Regions from separate parts of the Homo sapiens genome. Here region 2 is linked to region 1. Evidence: promoter capture Hi-C in human tissues and cell types (Jung and others, 2019). All regions are on one chromosome and are shown on one strand. The core of a region is centred on a gene start or on the middle of the fragment in contact, and the rest is flanking DNA. Distances in the headings are between cores, read along the strand shown.

Region 1 (3,023 bases), core at 230-2,729:
TGATTTCCTAAGTTGACAGGTATAATTGATTCTATAAAGGCAAGAATGTGTGATGAAGATGATGCAGATGCGTGCAAACACACACACGACGGGAATTACATGCTGCATCTGTCACCCTAAGTTAACCAAGGTTCTGTAAAACACAACCCTCACCTTTTCTGGATGTGGTTCATAACAAGGCTGCCACTGTGGTAGCCTAGGAAAAACCTCACTACTTCCGAGAAATTATGAGAAAGCTCGTTAATTAAGGCTAACCTATGAAAAACTATTTAACACCAAATCATGAAAAACATTTCGCGGTAAGTCATCAAAATCCTTAAAGATCCCATAAATTTGAACCTATTTCAGAAGGATAAAAAAGTAGTAATCACACACATTATGTAAGAAATAGGTCACAGCGTAAGTATTCGCTTACTTGCCCCTATGTAAAATTCTTTGAGTCCAATGATTTTAATTATTAGAATCTAAATTAATCAGTTTTATTACAGTCACAGCTTATTAACCCCATAAAGAAAAATGGGCACATCCAAGATGCCAAAGATTTATTAAAAACAATTTAAAATACATGATGATTTTAAGTCTTCAACAATTTGGTTGTTTTAGGGAAATATTTAAGACCCGCAGACTGTTTGTCATGCCCTGGCCTCAAAGGAGTTTCACGACCGAGTTCTCCAGGTAAAAGTTAATGTATGCGGGTCCCTAAAGGAAGACCCCAGCCTTCCATTCCCCTGGAGCCTGCGGGCGGCGGGGAAGGAGGGTTCTGACAACAGGGTAAGGGAGAGGAGCGCAAACCGCCGGCCTCCGCCCCGCCACCCCCAGTGCGGCCACCGCTCATGCCAACACATCCCGGGAAAGCCGGGTGCACCGACTCCGCAAGGTCACCCGTGAAGAGGCGACTTTACATAATCTCCCACCGCGCCGCCAAGGCACCTGCGCGCCGCGGCAGCAGTGCAGCCGCGGTCCCCTTCCTGCAGCACGGGCGCGAGATGATGCGGGGGCGGCGAGCAGCGCTACCAGGCAGGACGCCGGGGACCCGCGGGAAGGCAGCGCGCACCAAGCCGGGGGCGGGGGACCGAGGGTGGACGCCCAGACCGGGGATGCCCCGAGCCGCCGCCTTGGCTTGCGAGGCGGGGCGCGGCCGGCGCGGGCGAGGCTCGGTGCCGAACTCCCCAAGCTGCCGCCGGACGGCCAGCGCCGAGCGCGCCCCTCGCAGCTTCGCCCCGGACTGCCCCGGGACGCACCTGCCGCGCGCCTTACCTGAGTGGCTTTATGGAACTGCTTCTTGAGGCCGGCCACCGACATGGTGCAGGAGGCCGCGCTGGCGGCTGCTGTGCGGGAGGGAGGAGGCGGAGGGGGACTGGAGGGCCGAGCGGGGCGGCGCGCTCCCCTGGCCGCCTCTGGTCGTGCCGCCGCCGGGGCTATGGGCGCGAGGGCGCGGAGCCTAGCGGGACACGGGCTCTTGCGGAGAAACACTCTGACGTCAAGGGCGGGTGATGCGGCCTCTTAAAGGGGACGCGGGAAGCCCCGCCCCAAGCGCGGGAACGCCCAGGCAGGTGCTGTGGCGCGCGGTACCTGGATGCTGGCGCCAACTGCGGGGATGTGGCTCAGCGGCACCCGCTGGCGGATCCCTAGTCAGCGGGCCGAGGACGTCCTCCTGTCCCGGGGTTGGTGTTCCTGCCCCCGGGGGCTGCGGACGGGTCGCTGCAGATTGGCAGCCCAGGCACCCGCAGGACTCAGGTGACTTGCTGGGCTTCCAGGTAGCCGCGGCGGCGCTGCCTGCAGACGGCCCTCCTGCCCTTTGAGCCTGGCGTCTCTGCGCCGCAGCCTGAAAAAGACTGGCCTTCTATCTGGGCTAATGAATAAGTCATTGCTCCTTCTATGCCTTGCCCTGACTGGTGGGTCACAGAAAACATTTCTCTGCCCTGGTTTCAATATCCCTTAAGCCCATCTTACCTTAGGGAAAGTCACACACGCGTTTTCCCCCTTGTCTGATACAATTTAATGACTTAAAAAGAAGAACAGGAACCCTTAAGCCTGGACGGATAAATAGAATTGAAGTCTTACTACAAAACTAGCGTTCAATCCTCTGGTTACAGAAATGAAAAAGCCCAAATGTGATCTTGTTGTTATGCTTGTGGATTTAGGGTTTCCGGTCCGATAAAAATCAAAATATAATGTGAAAAAGCATGATACTAAGTTATATACAGATGCTTCATATGTAACCAAGGAGGTATGGCTGGCTAAAGTGAAACTAATAGATGACTTGGGAGCAGAGCAGCACTAAATGCCTTCTGTGCTCTGGTACTTAACCAAGTCTGGTTTTTCTAGGACTGAGGAGGTGGTCAGAAAGAACTTAGACGCTGTCCCCGTATGTGGACCAAAGTGATAAGAAGGAGAAGCCAAGATGGGAGAAATTGCCAAGGATGTGTAGAGACTGCAAGGCCAAATGGGAGTCCTAGAAATACTTTTTCTGTCTCCGCAACTCCTGCAGCCTGATAGGAGCCACAGACCCATCCCCACTCTTCTAGGCACTGCGGCTTGGGCACAGGGTGAACACCTGCTACAAAAGGGTCCTCCATCCGTAGAGCTACCAGTCATGGTCCTTCTTGATAATGTGAACTGACACACACAAAGGCAGAGTCAAGCAGTGGTGGGCACTGGAGCAGTAGAGCGCATGGACTAGGGACGCAGGCTGCAAAGGGAGGCAGATGAAAGGAGCTATTCTCCAGTGTGGTAGCCCTTACCACTGTTCATATACCTTTCCCTACATGGCAGAATTGCACTTTCCAAACCTCTTGTTAAGTGGAGGCATGGTTACAAGTTTTGACTAGAGGTTTAAGAGGAAAAGTGACTGTCACTTCTGCAGCAGCAATATGAGATGTATGAGATGCCGCAAAGCTTTCTTTTCCTCGGCCGCAATATTCTAGAAAGCTGTGGTCTGTCAGCCAGTATCCAGAGTGAGACTAAAGCAGTGCAGAGTCCCCACCTGACGTTCAATGGGCATGTAGCATCAGTGAGAAACC
Region 2 (3,023 bases), core at 331-2,830, 53 kb after region 1:
TGTGTGCCACAAAATATTTATTTTGTTGATCAAATTGTTCCAGTTTTAGCCACTGGGGACTCTTTTCCCCTGGCTCCTGTATCTCTTTGACACACCCCCATCAATGCAGGATTTTCTGTTGTGTTTTGTTTTTCTTTGAGCACTGTCTTACCTTCTGGCACTACACAACACTCCAGGCTCATCTTGTATATTTCCTGCCCCAATTCCAGAATCAGCCATTTCTCCCAAGAGCCCTGGTTCCTCTTATTGGAAACCAAAATCTGAGTGCTAGGTGTGCTTGTTGCTACTCCAGTGCCTTTACCTCCAGGCTGTCTCAGCTGAGTTCATGCTGATATTGCCAACTCTAATTCTTTACCACACACATCACTCTCCTCTCCTCCCCTTGCTTATCTGTAAGTACCCACTCCACCAGTAAGAATCCTAGCTCCCACCATTTGCCATCAATGTACTGAATTCTTCCGTCCCAGTATACATGCATCGCAGAATCAGAATTGTCAGTGTGTACTCCATGGGAAACAACTTTATCAACTAGAGCACAGTGAGAGCTTCTATCTATTTAAGGATAAATTTAATTCTCTGATAGTATAGCCTGCTTGAAAAGTTTTAGTTTTTCTTTTTAAATATGGAGAATTAACAAAGATAATCAAATCAGTAGAAAGGCTGTGCAGGGTATGAACAATGGGATTTCTTTCTTTTTCAGGTAAAGGAGGGCGGGTGGCTGAATTTGGAGTGTCACAGTAATGGACAGTGATGTGTCAAGGGAAAGCTTTTTATAAGAAGTTAGGTGGCCGGGCACGGTGGCTCATACCTGTAATCCCAGGACTTTGGGAGGCTGAGGTAGGCGGATCACTTGAGGTCAGGAGTTGAAGACCAGCCCGGCCAACATGGTGAAACCCCATCTCTACTAAAAATACAGAAAATAGCTTAGCTGAGCATGGTGATGCACGCCTATAATCCCAGCTACTTGGGAAGCTGAGGCAGGAGAATCACTTGGACCCAGGAGGCGGAAGTTGCAGTGAGCTGAGATTGCACAACAGAACTCCAGCCTGGGCGACAGCGAGACTCCGCCTCAAAATCCAGCCTGGGTGACACAGCAAGACTCCGCCTCAAAAAAAAAAGAGAGATTAGGTGACTTAACTGAAAAATTGTAAGCATTTTTGTTAAAGAGTTTGTAAAGCATGATAATCATTATTTAGTGGAAACTCTAGAGCTAAATTAATTAATTTTTTTACATGTTTTACTATTGTTCTTAAAGCTCTTAGAGAATATACGTATGACTTGGCTATTGGGGCTAATGAAAGAGTGAAAGAAGCAATAGGTTTCAAATGATTCCCATTACAGTATGTCCAGACCCTTTATGAGTAAAAGAGAAAAATATTTGTGAATTTAGAATTCTGGAAAATATTTTGGTGCACACTTATTGTATCAGTCTTATCAATCTTTGTGCCCTGAGATGTTTAGCATGAGATGTTCCTTTTAACTTGGAAGTATTCAGTAATTGAAAGATATTTACGTTAGCATATTCAACTTATTTATCAAAAGAAGTTAAACTTTATAATTTGTCAGTTTTTTTGTACTAAGTCTGGTAGACAAAGTCTCTTATAGTAATTTACTTAATTACAGTTTAGAGAATTTTAGACATACCTAATTAATTTTATTTATTGCTCTATGAGCACTTATTTCAAATCATTTTGGCTATTTTGAGTAGGGAAATGATGTATACAAAAATGTCCAGGCCGGGCACGGTGGCTCACGCCTGTAATCCCAGCACTTTGGGAGGCCGAGGTGGGTGGATCACAAGGTCAGGAGATCGAGACCATCCTGGATAACATGGTGAAATCCCGTCTCTACTAAAAATACAAAAAATTAGCTGGGTGTGGTGGTGGGCACCTGTAGTCTCAGCTACTCAGGAGGCTGAGGCAGGAGAATGGCGTGAACCCGGGAGGCGGAGCTTGCAGTGAGCCGAGATTGCGCCACTGCACTCCAGCCTGGGCGACAGAGCAAGACTCTGTCTCAAAAAAAATAAAAATAGAAATAGAAAAATAAATAAAAATAAAAATGTCCAAAGACATTTGTATGCTTTGTTAATGTATTGTTATTTTAAGAAATGAGTCAAATCATGTTTCATAACCAGTGTTTTGTATGTCTTTAAAAAGTTGTTTAGTAATTGTTTAGGCCTTCAAAGATCTTTTCATAATGAATTCAGTCATTTCTCTATGACCTTAAATTTAGTGAAGGATCTGGTAATTTCAAATTAGCTAACATATTTTTTATTTACAGTATTATACATTTTCATAAAATTAGGTCTTTTAAAAGGATATTTATTATCATTCTATTTAGTTGAATACAATTACATATGTAATTTTTAATTTTAAACAAGCTACAGAAACATACGTAGATCATTTAACTCGCAAACCAATGTAGGAAAGTTTGAATTATAAGAAATAACACTGGTCTTGAACAAATCAAAATGTTATGCTAACAACATTTTTATATGGTAAACCAGTTTTTAAAAACTCTGAATCATGCCAATATTCCCTTTTATTTTGAAGTTAAAATCTTTTCTATCTCATAGCTATAAAAACAAGTTATTATATAAAAACACTTTCCAGTACCCATAAAAAGAAACATAATTTAGTGACTTTACCTTTCTTTTAGAAAATATTTACTGTTTATATGTACTTAATATTCCTGCAGTACCTCAAAAATGACTGAAAGGTTTTTTTTTTATCAGTTAAGTTTTAAAGTTTACAATAGTCACGCATATTAATCAGGATGGAGGGATATTTTGGTCATTTTTATGGTTTGGGTAATGTTTTGGCTGAGGGATGTTGGGCAAGTTAGCAGCTGAGCCTCATTTTCCATATAGGGTTCTTTATGAAATGAAACAAATTAGTAAAATGTCCAACAATGTCTATGTTATTGTGTATGTTCAAACCTGATTTGAGAGTGATCTTGTTTTTGTCTTTATTTCTGATGGTCACAGAGTGGTCTTAACTGATTTTGATATTCTGTGAAATTGT

What was found. Contacts are between HindIII fragments. The study calls those that stand out against the background at their distance.
Region 2: a contact is called between a fragment that was not itself captured here and the fragment with the promoter of SH3GL2 in region 1, in 2 of the 25 tissues and cell types used here (H1 embryonic stem cells and mesendoderm cells).

Annotation. Positions count from the first base shown.
Region 1 is chr9:17,577,522-17,580,544 of GRCh38, reverse strand. SH3GL2 (SH3 domain containing GRB2 like 2, endophilin A1) reads right to left here and starts at 1,479. Exons shown (of 9, transcript NM_003026.5): 1 at 1,258-1,479. The coding sequence starts at 1,302. RefSeq lists a silencer at 2,469-2,667. The HindIII fragment of the contact is 4,711 bases long and covers 1-3,023 here.
Region 2 is chr9:17,524,946-17,527,968 of GRCh38, reverse strand. It overlaps a transcript of CNTLN not described here. Among named protein-coding and RNA genes, the nearest start is that of SH3GL2, 53 kb to the left of the region's middle. The HindIII fragment of the contact is 5,119 bases long and covers 1-3,023 here.